Regions from separate parts of the Homo sapiens genome. Here all the other regions are linked to region 6. Evidence: promoter capture Hi-C in 16 types of primary human blood cells and fetal thymus (Javierre and others, 2016). All regions are on one chromosome and are shown on one strand. Each heading gives the region's core, a stretch centred on a gene start or on the middle of the fragment in contact. The rest is flanking DNA. Distances are from core to core; before and after follow the strand shown. Region 1 has its middle 7.0 kb from the start of LINC02725. Region 2 overlaps LINC02725 (long intergenic non-protein coding RNA 2725). Region 3 overlaps LINC02725 (long intergenic non-protein coding RNA 2725). Region 4 has its middle 26 kb from the start of LINC02725. Region 5 overlaps LINC02725 (long intergenic non-protein coding RNA 2725). Region 6 holds the start of ETS1-AS1 (ETS1 antisense RNA 1). Region 7 overlaps LOC107984374 (a long non-coding RNA gene).

Evidence for each region. The method cuts DNA at HindIII sites, captures the fragments that hold promoters and counts their contacts. A CHiCAGO score of 5 or more calls a contact.
Region 1: a fragment that was not itself captured here is called in contact with the fragment with the promoter of ETS1-AS1 in region 6 in 6 of 17 cell types (naive CD8 T cells, total CD8 T cells, naive CD4 T cells and 3 more); the score reaches 12.6 in naive CD8 T cells.
Region 2: a fragment that was not itself captured here is called in contact with the fragment with the promoter of ETS1-AS1 in region 6 in 6 of 17 cell types (naive CD8 T cells, total CD8 T cells, total CD4 T cells and 3 more); the score reaches 13.5 in naive CD8 T cells.
Region 3: a fragment that was not itself captured here is called in contact with the fragment with the promoter of ETS1-AS1 in region 6 in 7 of 17 cell types (activated CD4 T cells, total CD8 T cells, total CD4 T cells and 4 more); the score reaches 11.7 in activated CD4 T cells.
Region 4: a fragment that was not itself captured here is called in contact with the fragment with the promoter of ETS1-AS1 in region 6 in 4 of 17 cell types (total CD8 T cells, naive CD4 T cells, non-activated CD4 T cells and 1 more); the score reaches 6.3 in total CD8 T cells.
Region 5: a fragment that was not itself captured here is called in contact with the fragment with the promoter of ETS1-AS1 in region 6 in 13 of 17 cell types (activated CD4 T cells, total CD8 T cells, total CD4 T cells and 10 more); the score reaches 35.7 in activated CD4 T cells.
Region 7: a fragment that was not itself captured here is called in contact with the fragment with the promoter of ETS1-AS1 in region 6 in 8 of 17 cell types (total CD8 T cells, naive CD8 T cells, activated CD4 T cells and 5 more); the score reaches 29.6 in total CD8 T cells.

Annotation. Positions count from the first base shown.
Region 1 is chr11:128,087,303-128,090,193 of GRCh38, forward strand. No RefSeq gene overlaps it. Among named protein-coding and RNA genes, the nearest start is that of LINC02725, 7.0 kb to the right of the region's middle. The HindIII fragment of the contact is 2,694 bases long and covers 64-2,757 here.
Region 2 is chr11:128,135,638-128,138,422 of GRCh38, forward strand. The region is part of intron 2 of LINC02725 (long intergenic non-protein coding RNA 2725); the gene reads left to right. Among named protein-coding and RNA genes, the nearest start is that of LINC02725, 41 kb to the left of the region's middle. The HindIII fragment of the contact is 4,086 bases long and covers 1-2,785 here.
Region 3 is chr11:128,153,073-128,155,772 of GRCh38, forward strand. All of the region lies in intron 2 of LINC02725 (long intergenic non-protein coding RNA 2725), which reads left to right. Among named protein-coding and RNA genes, the nearest start is that of LINC02098, 54 kb to the right of the region's middle. The HindIII fragment of the contact is 5,358 bases long and covers 1-2,700 here.
Region 4 is chr11:128,068,451-128,071,170 of GRCh38, forward strand. No RefSeq gene overlaps it. Among named protein-coding and RNA genes, the nearest start is that of LINC02725, 26 kb to the right of the region's middle. The HindIII fragment of the contact is 3,058 bases long and covers 1-2,720 here.
Region 5 is chr11:128,169,938-128,172,637 of GRCh38, forward strand. The region is part of intron 4 of LINC02725 (long intergenic non-protein coding RNA 2725); the gene reads left to right. Among named protein-coding and RNA genes, the nearest start is that of LINC02098, 37 kb to the right of the region's middle. The HindIII fragment of the contact is 1,624 bases long and covers 442-2,065 here.
Region 6 is chr11:128,524,670-128,527,510 of GRCh38, forward strand. It overlaps ETS1-AS1 (ETS1 antisense RNA 1), which reads left to right and starts at 1,473. Exons shown (of 4, transcript NR_120581.1): 1 at 1,473-1,646; 2 at 1,864-2,749. The region is part of intron 3 of ETS1 (ETS proto-oncogene 1, transcription factor); the gene reads right to left. The HindIII fragment of the contact is 5,425 bases long and covers 1,072-2,841 here.
Region 7 is chr11:128,050,131-128,052,830 of GRCh38, forward strand. LOC107984374 (a long non-coding RNA gene) reads right to left here. Exons shown (of 2, transcript XR_001748082.2): 2 at 1,453-1,576. Among named protein-coding and RNA genes, the nearest start is that of LINC02725, 44 kb to the right of the region's middle. The HindIII fragment of the contact is 3,278 bases long and covers 1-2,700 here.

The DNA of each region.
Region 1 (2,891 bases), core at 161-2,660, 440 kb before region 6:
AAATAATTTTCTTTCTTTATTGAGTTGACAACTTTGTCGAAAACCAATTAGATATAAATATGAAGCTTTATTTCTGGACTCTTTATTCAATTCCAGTGATCCATTTATGTAATATTGCACCAATACTACCAATAGTAACTGTGTCTTCGTTACTATGGCATTATATTGAATTGAAAATAAGATAAAGTTCTTCAAAGTTGTTCTTTCGACCTTCAAGATTATTCTGTTCTTATATATGCTTTGAATTCCTAAATAAATTATAAGTTTTCTTATCAAAATGCTAGTATTGGCTGGGTGCAGAGCTTCATGGCTGTAATTCTAGCACTTTGGTAGGCCTAAGGGGGCAGATCATTTGAGGTCAGGAGTTTGAGACCAGCCTGGCCAACGTGGTGAAACCCCATTGGCTCTACTAAAAACTACAAAAATTAGCTGGGTCTGGTGGCGGGTGCCTGTAATCCTAGCTACTTGGGAGGCTGAGGCGCTAGAATCACTTGAACTCAGGAGGCAGAGGTTGCAGGGAGCCAAGATCACACCATGGCACTCCAGCCTGGGTAACACTCCATCTAAAAAAAAAAGTAGTATTTTTTATTAGAATGGTGTTAAATCAATCAATATGTGCATTCTACATTATGTACCTCTTGATAATACTGTCTTCTGACCTATGAACATGATATATCAATCCACTTATATATGTCTTCTTTTATTTCTCTCAGCACTATTTTATTTTTCACCTCTTGCATGTGTTTTAAGGACTTTTTTTGGTATTAAATTTTTATGCTGATGTAAATAGAATTGCTGTTTAAAAATTCATTTTCCAATTGTTGGTTGTTGGGTGTCTTAGGGGTTTTTTGTGCTACTACAGTGGAATGCCTGAGGCTGGATAATTTATAAAATCATAATTTTTAATATAGTTCTGAAGCCTGAGAAGTCCATAATCAAGATGCCAGTATGCTTAGTGTCTAGTGAGGGCTGTTATCTCTGCTTTCAGGATGGTACCTTGTTACTGTGTCCTCTGGAGGTGAGAAAAACTGAGTCTTTAAATAGCAGAGGGACAAAAAGGAATGAACTCCCTTCACGAAGCCCTCTTATAACAGTTTTAATTTATTCATGAAGGTGTGGCACTCATGACTTAACTACCTCCCAAAAGGCCATACTATTTAATACTGTTACATTGGAGAGTTTTTTCAAGAGATGAATTTTGAATTATAAGGGACACATTCATACTATGGCATTCTTTCCCTGCCCTCCCCCACTAATGTCCTTCTCACGTGCAATGCACCTTCACTTTATCCAAATAGCCTCAAAAGTCTGTACTTGTTCCAACATCAACTCAAAAGTCTAAAATCCAGATTTCCATCTAAGTAAGTCAGAAATGGGTGAGACTCAAGGAACAATTCATCCAGAGGCAAATTTCTCTTAAACTGTGGGCCTGTGAAATGAGCAAGTTATGTACTTCTAAATACAATGGTGATACAGGCATAGAATAGACATTCCTGTTCCAAAAGGAATAAATAGGTAAGAAGGAAGAGGTAGCAGGTCCCAACTAAGTTTAAAACCTAACAGGGATAACAACATTAAATGATAAGGCTAGAGAATAGTCTTTTTGAACTCCATGTCCCACCAAGAGGACACACATGGGTGGGGATGCTCCCCTCCCCTACAGCTTCACTGACTGCAGCCCATGCCACAGCTCTCAGAGATAGTTAGGTGTCTACAGTCCTCCCAGGCAGGAGTTGCATGTTGGTGGCTCTATAGTTAACAGGCCTTGGGGATAGTTCTGACCCCACAGTTCTTCTGGACATTGTCCTAGCATGGACTGTATTTGGAGCCCCCACCTCTGCTATATAGTTCTCTGCCTCAGGAAGGCTGTCTGAGATATTCTTTGAAGTGTAAGTAGAGGCAGCCATACTTCCACAGCTTGTGTGCTCTGCATTCCACATAGATGATGCCAAAGTTTAAGGCATGTGCCCTTAAGTCACATCTCAAGTCACACCTAGGCCCACCTGCACCACAGCTAGGGTGGCCAAGAAGTAATACACTGGAATACAGAGAACAGAGAGCTAAGGTATCACAAGCACCCTAGGAACCTCTCCCCAAACTATTCTGACCCCAAGGTGAGGGAACTCTGGGCCTGTGATGCGCATGGCAGCCTGGAAGATCTTTCAAATGCCTTTAAGTTCATTCTACTACTTTCGTTATGAATAGTACATGGCTTTCTTCTATTTATACTAATCTTTTTATAAAATGATCTCATGTCTACATCCTTGATTTCCTTTCCTAAGCACACATTTTTTTTTCTTTACATGGCCAGGCTAATTTTCCAAATCTTTACAATCTGCTTCTCTTTTAATTATAAATTTTATCTTTAAATTATTTATTCCTTCTTCCCTTTTACTATAAGCAGTTGAAAGAAGCCATGCAGCATCTTAAGTGCTTTGTTGTTTAGATATTTTGCTGACAAATACACTAGTTAATCACTCTTCAGTTCTTCCTTCCACAGGGTCCTAGGTCACATATAATTCAACCAAGCTCATTGCCCCTTTTTAACAAGGATGGTTGTATCTCCAGTTTCCAATACCTTGTTCCTCATTTCCACCTAAGATCTCATCAGAATAGCCTTTACTCTCCATATTTCTACCAACATTCTTTTCATGACCACTTAAATAATGTCTAAAAAGGCAAGTTTTTCCCTATATCTCTCCTCTTCTTCTGAGCCCTTGTCAGAATTGTTCTTAATGCTCTGCTCATGGTAATACAAGCTTTTTTCTGCATGAATTTCAAAACAGTTTCACCTTCTACCCATTAACTGTTTCCAAAGCCGTTTTTATATTTTTAGGTATTTGCCATAGCAACACCCCACTCCTGGAACCAAGTTCTTTCTATGTTTTGTG
Region 2 (2,785 bases), core at 135-2,634, 390 kb before region 6:
GCTGAGCCTGTCCATGGTTGTGAAATTTTTAAATGACCCCTTTGTCCTCGGTGGTGCCAAAGTGAAATTCCTTTGGGATCACTTGCTTCTTGGCACCTGGTATCTGACCAACAAGAATGCGAGACAAAAGGTTCTTTCAAAAAAAAGAGACCAAGCTGTGCTTTTGTTTCCTCTGAAAGAAAAAGGTAATTTTACAGAAATACAGCAGGATTATCCAACTACACTATATGCCTCTGGCAGGTATCGCTCTATAAACAACTGAATCCAGTTAGACCTACAAATGTTGACTCCATTTTTTAGAATGCCAACAGAAAAGAAGGATTGTAATATTCTTAGACTTTTAGAATGGAGAGTCGAGATCAAATCTTCTTTTCTTCTACTCCCTGAATTTCTTTTGTCATATGGGGAACAATTTTTTTATTAAATGGAGAACAAAGAGATAAAATTAAATGTCTAAGATAGCACAGGAAGATACAGTTAGAATGAAAACCATGATCTCCTAATTCCCAAGCAAAGTCTTTGCACCCTAATGGACCCCCAACAGTAGAGACCTGTGAACTCTCTTCTTCCAATGCTGGAGAAACAACATTGAAATCAACCTAGAGATATAGCCTGCTTTACAAAGTTAATTTAGGATTTCCAAATACTTCATCTCAATTGCTCCTGACTACATAACTATGAAATAAATTGGACAAGTATCATAGGCATTTTATGCACAAGCAAACAGACTCAGAAATGTTAAGGAACTTGGCCTAAAGTCTCAGGAAGCTGAGTATCCTCTCCAGGTCTCCTAACTCCAAATCGATTTTGTACTAAGATGGGATGGAATTATTTCAAAAGAAACATGACAGAAGAACAGAGATTTTTTTTGTTTGTTTGTTTCTTTCTTTCTTTTTGAGACGGTGTCTCGCTCTGTCACCCAGGCTGGAGTGCAGTGGCGCGATCTCGGCTCACTGCAAGCTCTGCCTCCCGGGTTCACGCTATTCTCCTGCCTCAGCCTCCCGAGTAGCTAGGACTACAGGGGCCCGCCACCACGCCCGGCTAATATTTGTATTTTTAGTAGAGACGGGGTTTCACCGTGTTAGCCAGGATGGTCTCAATCTCCTGACCTCGTGATCTGCCCACCTTGGCCTCCTAAAGTCCTGGGATTACAGGCGTGAACCACCGCACCCGGCCAAGAACAGAGTTGTTAAATAGCTTACCTGAAGTTATACAGCCATCTCAGATTAAATAACTTTTCCCTGGAACATGAGTGATTGATAATGGAGGCCTTTTATTGCCTTTTAAAGAAAATGTCAGCATTGATGGTTGGTAATTTACCAAAGAGGGTAAAATGTGCCTAGCCTGCCACTAACTCGCTCAGTGAATGCTTTTTTGTCACTTATTGTATGCTTGAGAATTTTGCTGGACACTTTATGTACACTTAAAATTTACCTCCTTTGAACTCTATGAGTTAAGTAGGACTAATCCAATTTTTCAGAGGAGGAATTGAGGCTTTGAGAGAACAACAAAGTTTCCAAGTCATATTGCTGAAGAACCAAGGTATGCATCAAGGTAGAGCATGATGAAAGTTATTTGAGGCCTTGTAACTATTTATGGCTTTTTATGACTTGACGCAGGTCCTAGCCTCCATGCTAAGGAAAAGACAATCAATGGATTGGAATTTAAAACCCAAGTCTAACCTATTTTAATGTCTATACCCTTTCCTCTACTGGCCAATTTCTTTGCCATAAAGAGTACTATTGATCTAAAGTTTCTCTTCTGAATAGGAATAACAGGACCATTTCCAGCCCTTTGAAGATCTCTACAGACAATACATTTTCATAAAATAATAGTTATTTTCCTATTGAATCACATTGCCTTATTACTTCTACAATTTTGACTTCATTCATTTAACCTCTCTATAGACTGCACAATTTGCCTTCCCCACACGAATATTATTGTGCTATTCTAATACCTGTGGAAGTTAAAACGACACAGTCATCTATTGAATAGGGAGTTGGATCATTACAGCCCAGTTTAGAAAGTAATTTTCCCAAGACACGCTTTATTTAAAGTCAGGGAAGAAGCCTCCATTATAAATGCTTTCCACTGTAAAGGGTAATGAGTTGCCCGGAAGCTCTGATTAGCTGATTTCCCCTGTGTACTCCCTGCAATGGGCAAATCAGTGCTGACTCAGTCACTGCCTACTTGGCCTCAGTTATATGGCTCTATTTGACTTGTTCTTGGTTCACCACCTTCTTTCCCTAACTCTCTCCAGGGCAGTAGTCGCTCAACTGATTTTCTCACCCCAACAATTATCTTGATAAGTTGAGGCCTGACAGAGAGCCCAGGAAGTGCCCTGTTCCATGCCCAACAAGGACATCTTGGTGGCTCTGCGACAGCTATGTCTTGTGAATTGCATTTGTAGGATGTCGGAAATCTCTGCTATGTCTCTAGAAACATAAGCAAATAATCATTCCAAATAGACATAGGGCTAAATTTACTGAAGTGTATGCTTGGAAATACTAGCTCTTTCTGTGGTCACCTTTTGTGGTCATTATTTGACAAACAGTCCTCAGCAGGTACACAGAAAGCACTCTACTTCCTATCGCAGAGATTAGCACTGAATATTAACATAAATGATGGGAGAAATTCTATAGTAAAGAAATTCATGGCCGGGCGTGGTGGCTCACGCCTGTAATCCCAGCACTTTGGGAGGCCGAGGTGGGTGGATCACAAGGTCAGGAGATTGAGACCATCCTGGCTAACACAGTGAAACCCCGTCTCTACTAAAAATACAAAA
Region 3 (2,700 bases), core at 128-2,627, 370 kb before region 6:
TCTGGGTCTCAATTTTGTCATCTATAAAATGATCACTCTGGTCCATTTTCCATTTGGCAGAGCTCAAACAGGCTGGAAGCCGACTATGAGGATGAAGACAGCGCCTAAACTTTCTAACACTCTTTATGGGGCCTATTTCCTAGAGTTCATGCAACTCATCTTGAGTCACAATTTATATATGTTTAGGTGATCAAACTACCTTTTATTTATATTTCCAGTTTATGAAGCATGGTTGATATGGTATTTCACTAACCCTCACAAGAACCCTAAGGTAGGTAGGTAATAATGTCCCCATTTTACAATGAGGGCACCGAGGCTAGATATGGCCCACAAACCTTCTGTAAGCAAATAAATGCAAATGCAGGGTTAGTGCTGGAACTCACATCTTCTGACTCCTTCTGTGCAGCTGAACTGTGAACTCCAGCTTGTAAAATACAATTCCTTGCTCTGTAGCCAAAACAAAACTGCATTTGGAAATCAGAATCAGAAGGTTGGTGATAGGCCGTCAAGTGTTTCACAAGTGATTAAAGGAGAATCTGGGTTCCCCATCTCTTGGGGCCTCCTATTCCTCTCTCAGATCCCTCAACACTTAGTATAAATTATCTGGCATTAGGATAGAGATCTTTTTCATTAGTGTGTCTTTGAAAAACATTAATGTACAGGAAAGAAAAATTCCTCTTCATAGGGACAAACATAATCTTATCAGAAATGAGCAGGACAATAACAGGAAGGAGAGGATTCTGGAATGTCAAAGAGAGGAGGGGCAACAGGGAAAGAAGGCAGGCTGCAGGAAAGGCCCGGAGAGGCTTTCATCAGGGGCCGGCAGCCAGGATATTATTGTGAGCTGGAAACATGGGCAGAGCCAGGCAAGGAGGAGGGCATATTGCAAAATGGCTGCCTTGCTGCCCTTGTTGACGTGCGCCCAAAGACTGCACATGGACAAAGACATATTTATGCAAAGTCCATTTTCCTTCCAATGACTTCCAGGGGAAGCTCACAGCCGCTAAGGTGATGAAGCCTGAAGCTAGAGAGAAAGGACCTTCAAAGACGTTGAGTCCCTCTCCATGGGATGGGATTCCATCTCCCATCCTGGACTTGAGACCCTGACAGCAGCATCGATTCCTTCTGTCACTAATCCAGAGACAGCGCATCCCACCGCTGCCTAGACTGCCCGGAAACTCTATCCCCTCCCTCTTGCAGCCTTCACACACCCCCGGAAGGGTCCCAACCAGACTACACCTACACCTTCCCAGACCAGCACCAGCTGTTAACAAAGTGAAATGTCCCTTTTCTTTGACTGTTAGATTTCAAATGCTGCATGGTCCAAAACTGCTTTTTCATGTCTCACCTACACTCATCACACTGTTTCAGCCTATTTACTTTATTTTGTCCATAGGGTACATAGAAAGCAGCTGGCCATCTTCCTGGGCATAATAACACTTTAGACACTTGACAGAAACAATGGAGCCACAGAAAAGACCACCCAGACATAGATATCTGTCTCCGAGGAAAAGTTGGGGGCACAGCAAATATTCTCAGGACTTGGCAACATCCGCTTCTCTCATTATGCCCTATACAAAATTACAAAAATACTCAGTTCAGACATTTGATTTTGGTCTTGAATATTCTATTTAACACAGTGTACTTGTCTTTACATATAGACATGCACATCTGTTCCTAGAATTCTTGCAGAATAACTTGCTTTCCTTGCCACTTTACTTTGGCTTTAATTGTTGTCATGAATACAGCCTTCCGTACATCTTCCCATAATGTTCTTCTTAGTTTTTTAAACTCTTTAATCATTTTCTCCCCTTAGAATTTCTGAAGTTAAATGATAAAATGGATTGGGATGTCAGTCCAAAATCTCCAATGCTCCGAAAATCTCAGACACATGTTGCCTCGGAGATGGGTCTTTGGGGGCAATTAAAAGATAATGTCAATAGGGCTGGACAATGACAAGCTAATGGTCTCCTGCTGCCAAAGAAGGGGCCTTGGAGAAACTGAGATGTTATTTTCAAAGCCAGAGCCCATTATGCTGTCACAGCACCATCCTCCGATGACCTGGCTCCTATTATGCCCAGTGATTAGAACAATAAATAAAAGAGAGGCAGTAAGGAATAAGTGCAAATTTCTGCAGCTAACCAGCAAACCAATCGAGTTAAGAGTGAGGCTCCCCAGACACATTTAGCCATCAGCATGTATGTCTGAACCACTGGCTCCAGAAATGTTACCTTTTCATCTCCATGCATGGCATTTCTTGCAACTGACATTTTAGTTTTTTCTATTAACTCCTACAACTGGATTTTATTCTTGCCAGCCAACTCCTACCTAACCTTCAACACCCAACTCAGAATGCTTTTAGGAGTCTTCTCAAACCCTGTAGCCCACAGGTACCCTCCTCTAAATCCATGTATTTTCAACCTGTTGTGGTCTTTGTTGTCATCATTAACATCCTTTATAACCCCCTTTGCATAGTGGTCCCTTTCTTTACTACTGCTTAAGTTCTCAGGAACTGGTGTTGACCCAAATGGAGTGTAAATTACCAGTCAACAGAGATTATATCGCACACATATTTGTATACCCTTAAATCCCAATATATGCCCTCAACAAACACCTCTTAAGTGGTTGGACTTTTGTGAATGTTTCTGTTTAGATTAGTCATGGTTGAAAAGGTAGAGTATGTGTCAGGCCATGATGTTT
Region 4 (2,720 bases), core at 133-2,632, 460 kb before region 6:
AGCCATTTTCTCTGAGGCCTCTGGGCCTATGATGGGAGGGGCTGCTGTAAAGACCTCTGACATGCCCTGGAGACACTTTCCCCATTGTCTTGGTGATTAACATTCGGCTTCTCGTCACTTAAGGAAATTTCTGCAACTGGCTTGAATTTATCCTCATAAGATGGGGTTTTCTTTTCTATCACATTGTCAGGATGCAATTTTTTGAACTTTTATGCTCTGCTTCCCTTATAAAACGGAAGGTCTTTAACAGCACCCAAGTCACCTCTTGAGTTCTTTGTTGTTTCGAAATTTCTTCCACCAGATACTCTAAATCATCTCTCTCAAGTTCAAAGTTCCACAAATCTCTAGAGCAGGAGAAAAATGCCAACAGTCTCTTTGCTAAAACATAAGTCACCTTTGCTCCAGTTCCCAACAAGTTCCTCATCTCCATCTGAGACAACCTCAGCCTAGATTTCATTGTCCATATCATTATCAGCATTTTGGTCAAAGCCATTCAACAAGTCTCTAGGTAGCTCCAAATTTTCCCACATTTTTCTGTCTTCCGAGCCCTCTAAACTGTTCCAACCTCTGCCTGTTACCCAGTTGCAAAGTTGCTTCCACATTTTTGGGTATCTTTTCAGCAGCACACCACCCTACTGGTACCAATTTGCTGTATTAGTCTGTTTTCAGGCTGCTGATAAAGACATACCCAAGACTGGGCAATTTACAAAAGAAAGAGGTTTAATTGGACTTACAGTTCCACGTGGCTGGGGAAGCCTCACAATCATGGCAGAAGGTGAAAGGCACTTATCACATGGTGACAGACAAAAGAAGGGAGCTTGTGCAGGGAAACTCCCCCTTATATAATCAGCAGGTCTCATGAGACTTATTCACTATCATGAGAACAGCACAGGAAAGACCTGAACCCATGATTCAATTACCCAGGTCCCTCCCACAACACGTGGGAATTCGAGATGAGATTTGGGTGGGGACAGAGCCAAACCATATCATGGGATAATTGTATAACTATAAATTTACTAAAACTGACCTAATTGTTCTCTCAAAACGGGTAAATTTTATGGTGTGTAAAAATACCTCAATAAAGCTGATTTAAAAAAACGAAATCAAAAAACATAAGCCTTCTTCTAAACTTCCTAAACCAGAAATCTCTGGCACTATTTTTTTTAATGTGGAAAAATACACCTAACATAAAATTTTCCATTTCTATCATTTTAAGTACACAGCTCAGTGGCATTTAGCCCATTCATATTATTATGGAATCATGATGATTATACATCTCCAGGATATTTTTAGCATTTCAAACGAAATTCTGTACTGATTAGACAATAATCCCAAATTTCCTGCTGCCCTAGCTCTTGGCAGCCATTCTACTTCTATCTCTAAGAATTTGACTACTCTAGGTACATTATGTAAGTGAAACCATACAGTGTTTGTCTTCTGGTGTCTGGTTGTTTCACGCAGCATAATGCCTTCTGGGTTCATCAATGTTGTGGCATGTGTCAGAATTTCCTTCCTTTAATGGAATGATTTTTGATTCCATTGTATATATTTACATTTCATGTATCCATGCATCTGGCAATGAACATTTGGGTTGTTTCTACCCTTTGCTTATTGTGAATAGTGCTGCTAAGAGCATTGTTGTACCTTGGTACTGTTTTTATAACTTGTATTTTTTCTTTGGGGGGAAGGGAATCAATGGCTTTAATTATATTTTCAAAGGGGTTTGCGATACAAAATTCTAGCTGTGTAACTGACTATAGTAGACATAAATAAATAAAGGCTTCATGCCTTCATTTCCTGGCTGAGGGATCAGTCTAGCAATTCAGAATGGATCATGTATGTACTATATCAAATACTTATCATATATTTACTAGAATTAAGCAACAACACATAGATAATGATGATCATCCTACAGTACTTCAACATGTACCAGGCTCTATACTAGGCACTTTTTATCCCTTATAACATTTAGTTCTTAGGATACACTTCTCATCCTCACTTTTGAGGCAATGGGGAGTTCAATAATTTACGCAAAGTCAGTAGAGATTTCTTAGTCAAATTCAGCTCTTTCTAGCCCAAAGGTTATGTTCACAACCACTTTGCAATACTGTCTCTGGAGAGAGATTCCATCGACTCACTTGAATAGTTTGAAAATGGCTATAAGTTGGCAATGCATTTTAGGAAAGACTGGTGCTTTGATTCAAGAAACAAAGCAAACACTCCTCACACTTTAGAGTATAATTAGCAGAATCTAATAGCTAATAGGAAGGCTAAGAACTCAAGCAGTGATTATGTTTTAGATCTGATTTGGGATTCTCTTGTGCAAACATTAAGCCTTTTGGAATCAATCCAGTTCTATTTAAACTAAATCTTCTTAAACTTCTTTGTATTTTCTTGCCCACATCTGGAGCAGACAGAAAAGACCACTTTACCACAGCAACAAAGCCTGCATGGTCTTTGGCCATCACTCCTTTCTTAGTAATTCTCTCTCAGTGAATCCTAGGCAGGTGTCAGGAGAGGGGATATAAGAATATGCATGTTTCCGTCCCTAATTCAAAGCAGGCTTTCCCACCAAAATATTCACAATGGCCTGGAAGCAAGTCAGGCAGTTCTTTCACAGAGATTTTGCTCAGATGCCTCCTATTAAAATGGAGACACCTGCATTTCCAGGCATTGTTGTCTGTTGCTTCATTTTCTATTAATACAGACTTTGGAGACAA
Region 5 (2,700 bases), core at 4-2,503, 350 kb before region 6:
TATTATATACTAAGCTTGAAGACCAAAACAAATCAGTAAGATCCCTATCTTAAAGACTCTTAGATCTAGTACATGACTTAGTATAGGTGAAGAATTTTAATATAAGACTCAGTAGATGCTATAATAAAATAATGAGCAAAACTATATAAAATCCCAGAGAAAGTTGAAACTTATTCTGTCTTGGATCTTTGGAAAATCCTAAAGAAATTTGCGAACTTTTATAGGGAGTCTTATATAATGAAGAAACGTTTACTAGGCAGAAAATGGAGGGAGAGGTAGTTCAGAAAGGGATAACAACAGAGAAATTCAAAGTAGACAGAAGTGTGAATCATGGGGGAATGGAGGAAAGTGAGATTACAGAGGGGGTTTGGGGACAGACAGTACAAGCCTGGTAGACCCATCTAGGGAATTCGGAGTCTAGGAGGCCAGAAAGAGTCATGAAGCTTTGAAAGCAGGAAAGTGACAAGTTCAAATTTGTTTTAAAGCTGCTTTGGCTACAGCATAGAAATTGAGGGCTGGGCATGGTGACTCACGCCTGTAATCCCAGCACTTTGGGAGGCCGAGGCGGGCGGATCACGAGGTCAGGAGATCGAGACCATCCTGGCTAACACGGTGAAACCCCGTCTTTACTAAAAATACAAATAATTAGTCGGACGTGGTGGCGGGCACCTGTAGTCCCAGCTACTTGGAAGACTGAGGCAGGAGAATGCCGTGAACCCAGGAGGCGGAGCTTGCAGTAAGCCAAGATCGGGCCACTGCACTCCAGCCTGGGCGACAGAGAGAGATTCCATCATCTCAAAAAAAAAAAAAAAAAAAAAAAAAGAAATTGAGCAAAAGAAAGAGAAGCTGTCGATGGGGTGGTAGCTGTATGTTCACAGACATGTGCACCATATTGCTATGCTGTTGCAGTTTTGGAAGAGCGCTTGTGCTTCTGCCACTAAGTACTCGCACAGTTTTACATTAAAAATCTCTTATTGAGAGCTTACTAGGAGCAAAACAGCAAGGAGAGTCCGGCATGGTGCGGAGATTTCCATCTTCTTGCCCAGGAAAATGTTTATAAGGAAAAAGAACTAAAGAGATTCAAAGTGAGGACAAGGCACTGTTGAAGAAATTAGAATGGCTTTTTGGAGTAAATAAAATTTGGCATGGAGGGGTGATGGATATACAGGACTTTTGTAAGTAGAAGAGATTGACTGCTCTGACCAAAATGTCTTCCCTAACGCGCCCACTAAAATGCAAGCTAAAAATTGAGATTAGGGCCAGGCGCGGTGGCTCACACCTATAATCCCAGCACTTTGGGAGGCCGAGGCTGGCGGATCACAAGGTCAGGAGATCAAGACGATCCTTGCTAACACGGTGAAACCCCGTCTCTACTAAAAATACAAAAAATTAGCCGGGCGTGGTGGCGGGTGCCTATAATCCCAGCTACTCAGGATGCTGAGGCAGGAGAATCACTTGAATCCAGGAGGCGGAGCTTGCAGTGAGGCAAGATCGCGCCACTGCACTCCAACCTGGTGCCCCAGCGAGACTCCGTCTCAAAAAAAAAAAAATATATATATATATATATGTAGAAATTAGAGTGTCTATTTCTAACTTCTCTTCACTATTTCCTTCTTAGAAGTCAGAATGAAAGAAGTGCTCTAACAGTGTCGTCAACCTCGATTAAGCCTCAATCAAGCCAAAATTTGTGCTTGAAAAACCTAAAGAGGAGAACTACCACTGTTTATTTTTGTTACATGATGGCAAACAGTATGAGTCATGTTTCCATGGAATTGACTAGCTGCAGGGGCAGGTAGAAACTCAGCCAAAACAATAGAGTTAGAATTCTAAGGCTTTGGCGTGCACTCAACCTGACTGTAGATAATTCAGCTAATTTTTCCTTCAAGGTTTCCAACCATAAGCCCCTAGGAATAAAGCACTATCTGATTGTCTCTGGCCATTTTAAAGTTCGCACCAACAGGTTGGTCTAGATAGGCTTATTTTATTTTGAAACTAAGCCCAAGTCCAGTTTGAGTTAATGTCAGAAATATAACCCAAATCATTAATCAGTCAATCTATTTATCAAAGCTTGCCCCATCTGTAAATAATTAGTTGCAGCCCATTTTACACTGTGGGTAAATAAAGTGTTTCTATTGCTCTCTTGGTATTGTTTCTGAAAAGCCATTGTTGTCACCTCTTATATATGGCCATGAGCAAGCTCTCAACAGCATAACTGGAAGACCAAAGAAAGAAATTAACTGAGCCATCCTGCATTAGTAAGGAAGGTGCTGATAGATAGCAGCAAAATCAAACAAGTTAGGAGTGGACCAGACAAGAGGGCCTTCTCTTTCAGTTACGAATGCATCTGGCCTGTGTCCATGGCTAGATCATATATCTGACAATATCCTCCCTTTTAATGCTTTGCAGATCCAAGGTATAGTATCATACCCTAAGACTGAACTCTCCAGGGAAATTATGTCAAGCCATAGCCAAGAAAGTAGGATTGTAAAAATCACCCCAGGAACCAGCTGCCTGGATTTCACCTTCAGAAAACAAGGGAGAACATGGGCCAAAAGGTGGCGCTGTGAGACTGAGAATAATGCCCGATGCTGCACTTTAGTCTCAAGTCTCTGAAAATATGCTCAGCACTTACCCCAGGGGGAAAAAAAAAAAAATAGAAGTTAGCTTTATTTTTAGAATTTATCTCTGTGCACTCAGGAT
Region 6 (2,841 bases), core at 223-2,722:
TATTTCTATGTTATCATACGCTAAAACATTGATGCCTAGCCTAGTGCCTAAGACATTACAGAGCTCAATAAATATGTGTTGAATGATGAACTATCAACTTTTTGGTCACTATGGGCTTCCTAATTCAATGATTAAGTGAGTTTGATATGCTCTGGCTTGTGAAGATGAACTAAAAAGTGTCAGAGGCTGTGCCCTTTTCCCTTCATAGTAGAGCAGAACCTCTATCCCCAGCACTCACGTCCACTCGGTTACATGTATGCCTCAGTGTCCCCACCAGCCAAACAACAGCAGCCAAGCGTTGCCTTTCATCCACTTGGGCAAGATACTTCAATACCATATCTGGTTTTTAAGGCACTCAGGAAAAAAAAAAATCAATCAAATAAATACTTCTGTGCTTGTGCTTGTACTGCAGCAGTCTGTTCCTCCTGCATTTGGGAAAAAACAGAATTGTATTTTTAAGCATTCCTTAGACTTCGGCTAATTATATCCTACCAAGTGCTGAATTGCCTTACACTAGGAACGTGAAGTCAATAAGGGCCAAGAAAAGTCCGCAGGAGTTGGGGAACAGAAGAGTGGAGCTAGACAATAATATTAAGAAAATAGTCACCTTCATACAGGAATTCCTCAAGCACATGGAGTATGTAAAAAGCATACTTTCTTTTTTATTTATACTCCTCCCTCAACTCCACCCCAACTTCAATAAAAAAGAAATATAAATATACACTTAATGTTGAACAATCATGGAAGACAGACTTTCCCTCTCCAGAAGTGTCCTAGCATGTTATCTACTCCTGAGTCTTGAACTTCAACAAAACAAAGAATCTCTGAGTTTTGAGCTAAAATATGCTTTACTGAAGGTAGGTACAAAAACATTCAGACCACTAACGGCTGATCCAGAACCAGTTTATGACTCACAGATGTTGATTTACTGGTATAAATGTAAGATTTAGAAAAAAAAAAAAAAAAAAAAAAGCCCTCAATTAACAACAACCTGTCTGAGCTGCATTTGTGGTCTCATTTTTCTCTGAGAAAAGGCAACAGTCTCTGTCATACACAGAAACAAGCTTTGAAAGCTTACTTCTAAGGCAAGTGGTTTCTATGTGAGAAGTTTAGTCATTAAAAGTCACACTAGGGAAGAAAAATGCCTGGCACTTCAATATCTACATTATCAAGCAGCAATAAAATGGAAAATTAGAGATAGGAAGGAAAATTAAAATAACTCTCTTAATTAAACTTGGATGCCAAAAAGCCTTAGGGTCAGTTAAGGGACCCAAGCCAGGGGACTCAGATGGTACTGTTGCTGACTGCAGGCTGGCTCTGTGACCTCACCAAAGCCACTTAACCTTTTTGTGTCACAACCTCATCTCTGTTTCAGGGAATAAAATCAGCCCTAGCTCTCCCTAGAATGGAACACAGACTCATTGGCTATTGTTTAGAAGGCACAATAAACAATGAGGGTAGGAGGAGCTGCAGTCAGGAGGGAAGAAGGGAGGGTGGGGTGGGGTTGGGGGAGAGGGGAGGACTTGGGAGCCTGTTTGCCCTGGAAAGCTCAATATAAGAAAACAAAGAGGATAGTAGTGTGGGCTTTGGAATAAGACTCAGGTTCAAATTCTTACTCTACCAACTAGCCAGCTGAATTGCCACAGGTAAGTCATTTAAACAATCCCGAACCTCAGTTCCTCCATGTTTCAACTAGGGATAATAGCAGCACACACCTTTTAAGGCTATTTGAATGATTAAATGAGATAATGTATGCAAAGAATTTAGCACAGTGTCTAGGTGAGAATTAGTATTTGATTATTGTTATTAAGATCTAGTATACGGTAGAATATGTGGGAAATCACATTAAATGTCTGTCTACAGCCATCTCTTTGCAGAATAGCTTGGATGCTCAATTTTCCTGAACGATCTCCAGCGAGAGATAGAACAACTATCACCACATTTCATTTAAAAATCTCTTCAAGACCCTTCCTCAGTTCTTAAACTGGCAACCTGCCCAGCATCAGCCTCACTTGAGAAATTCGAGAACTACCTGATTGGAGAAGAGAACTAGATTTATATTTGTTTTGAGTCACAGAAAAGTGACAGTTTAAATTCTGAAAGAAGATCACATTTGTAGTGCCTCTTTGGAGACAAAACCTTAGGTCTTGGATTTGTCACATGTTAGAGCTCAATGGGAGTTTATCAGTGCTCTCCAAGTCCAGCACTCCTATTTACCAGAGGTGAAAAATGAGTGTGAGTGAGGAAATTATTATTTCCAGGGCCACACAATCTAAAAAAGTCAGTGTCAGTACTAGAACCAGATGCCCTGATAGCAGTTCTCTCCCTGGCATCTCCTTGCATTTACTTTGCATTTCACTTTGGCAGGAGAAGTACCAGACACCCTTGAGACACAAGACAGGATACAATGGACATGGGAGTAGATAGATGAGCAGACTCAATTTCTAGAAATCCAACTTCTCTACACTGGATGTATTGTCTTTGGGCAAATACATTGCAGGATAACCACACTATGGTTCCCTGTGGGAGACAGCTTGGCATGGGCTGTCAGGAGAGAAAGGGCCTGGGTTGGCTCTATTGCTGTCTGCAGTTTCTTTAGACTATAATTATGAACCATTCAACTGCATCTGCAGCCCCAACAATGTGGGGTGGATTGGCCTAATCCACAGACCAAGCGACATTTTAAAATCCAGCAGTTTAGACACGTATTCCTCTTGCAGCAAATCAAACATGGCTCAGACAGGAAGAGGTAAGGAGCTGCCCAAGGTTAGAGGGTTCTGAGGTCTCATCCACACTCAGTGTTGTGTGCTTCCCTGAAGCAGGCTGAGCATGTTGCCTGGA
Region 7 (2,700 bases), core at 92-2,591, 470 kb before region 6:
AAAATGAAATTATGAAAATAAATAAAATAACAAAAACTAACAACAACAATAAAATAGCAGGTGACTTTATAAAGTACCTACTACTTTTCTAACTACTTTGCATATATCCACTAGTAATGGGATTATAATGACCCTTTAATGTAGGTGCCATTATTATGAGAAAACTGAGGCATAGAGAAGTTAAGTAATGACTTGCGCAAGGTCACACTACTATAACAGCAAAACCTGGATATAAACTCAGACGTTTTGCCTTCAAAGTCTATATATTCCTGACCACTGTGATATACTACCATTGCAAATTAAAACTTGGGGCTTTAAAAATGATCAAGAATCATATTCAGGCATATGTTAAAAGAAAAACTTCAGGCAAATTAAATTTAAAAGAATTTACATGAGCAAAAAATGATTCAGGCGTCAGGCAACTCTAAGAATCAGAAGAGGTTCAGAGAGCTTTTTTTTTTTTTAGGAGAGTGAGCAGCGAGCTTTTATTGGCAGACACAGAAGTAAAGTAGAAGAATCATTTTATTGGCCACAGCTAAGATGTCTGCCTTATTTGAGTACGGTATGATGAGTTGACTGCCTGTGACTGGCTGAAACACTTCTGTTTATTATACTCCTAAGTTAGGTTTAAGTGCTAAGTTAGGTTGTACTTTGCTACGTAGGAACTCAAAGTATGGAGACAGACTCAGGCTAGTGGCCTCCAGCTTATTTAATTTAACCTATAGAACTTCAGAGTTTATGAAGCATTTATATTCACGATCCCATTATTCCTTTTATCACCATGAGAGAGGCAGTGCAGAAAGCAGGGTTTCCCTTCCACAGAAGAGATGACTGGTGCCCAGGGAGGACTCAGTGTCTGATCCATGTCCCAGTGAGTGACAGGTCTTTTTGGCCTAAATCTTTGTCTTTTTTTTCCCCAAATCCTATGACCTTTCAACAACATAGAGTTGACTCAACTAGAAAGCAAGTAAGATTGACCAGCTGGTTTCTGATGTCAGGTTCCTTGATAAATACAAATATTTTCCACCAACAAGTGAGACTAATGCTATGTCTCAGTAAAATAGTAAAAGGAACTCACAAAATAGTTTCTGCAGATTCATGCACACAGGGTGTGTGTGTGTGTGTGTGTGTGTGTGTGTGTGTGTGTGTAGTTTTGGTAGTAACAAGGGCAAAAGAAAATAAAAGTAAAAAACACTACTTGCTTCCCCTCAAACATGTGAGGAATAGCAGGCCTCATATATGTATTCTGAATGTCTGAATGCACTATAATAAAAGACTTTTGATCCAGTGAACAAAGAGATCGGTTTTGTTTTGGCTTTTTTTTTTCTTTTCCTGTGAGGGTGCTGTGGGGCAGGTGATGGTGAACAGGAACATGAATCAGAAAAGAAGCAAGAGTCCAAAAGGCAGTGATGGGGTCTCACAAGTTGAAAGTGGGAAGAAGAAAAAAACAAATTATTGTATTTCTTTATTCATTTCTCAACAGACTTTTTTAGTTGTTTCTTCATCTTAGCTGTTTTGAATGATGCTGCCGTGAGCATGGAGGGCAGCTGTCTCTTCAAAACTCTTCTTTCATTTCCTTGGGGGGAAACATAAAAGAAGAGAATCACGTTCTTGGAAATCAGACGGATGAGTGTGCAAAAGAGAACAGGAAAGAACCAAAATAAGGATGAAATACTTTGGAGAAGAGAAGAATGAAATCCATGAGAAACAAAAGCAAAAGTGACAAACAGGGAAGAGTGCTGAGTTCATAGGAAATTTATGTTTTCTTTCTGGAAATTTTAAGTGGCTTGCATGATTGTGAGGTAAGAGTTCTCAATAAGTTAAATACATTTTAAAATAAAAATTTAAAAGGCTATCAAATGTGATGATTTATGTGAAAATATTCTCCAAAATTATAAAATGCTGTTGAGGAGCTAGATATTATTGTTGCTATTACCATTGATGACATTTTCTGTGGTGTCATTCCTGGCAGGCCACCAAGTGATTTTACTCAGCTCCATCATATTTGGGGGCTATGGTTCCATGTTAGATAAAATCACCTGTCCTTCCACTCCTCTGAATACAGTCGAATGGATATTATCTACTGATGTCAACTACAATCTTATAATAAAAGAAATAGTGAGCTATTTTCCACTTTTATTTAATATGGAATATGAGAAAATGATCATAAATTACAGCAAGAGTGATTTAGGTTCAGAATGGCAAAAAGAATATTTTCTTGCTGTTTATGCATGGAAACCGATTACTCGGGAAATAGAACTATCTCTTTCCCAGCGATAACAAGAAATTGTTTCCTGCTTATTTTCAGTTGTTTAGAAGAGGGCACTTGGAGGTGGACTGGGCTGCTGAAGGGGGTCATTTTGAGAGACCTGTTGAAATCCTCAAGCTGTATTATATAAATACAAGATGTGCTATTGAGATGTGCTATTAAGCTAGACACCTACCAGTGCTTCAATCCTATGCATCCTCAAGTAGCCTTCAACAGTTAATACAAGTTTTAAAATACCTTTAGTTCTGAAAATTGTTGAAAACGTTGAGAGTGAAAACATTGAAAAATCTCAAGTATTTCAGGTAATAAAGAAATCATTACTGGATTTTTCTGTTTTCAATTGCTATTTCATTTATTTTCCTCACTCAAAACATTCTTTGCCCAGGCTGATGCAACTTAGTTTGCTTTATTCACCCAAAATATAGGACTTG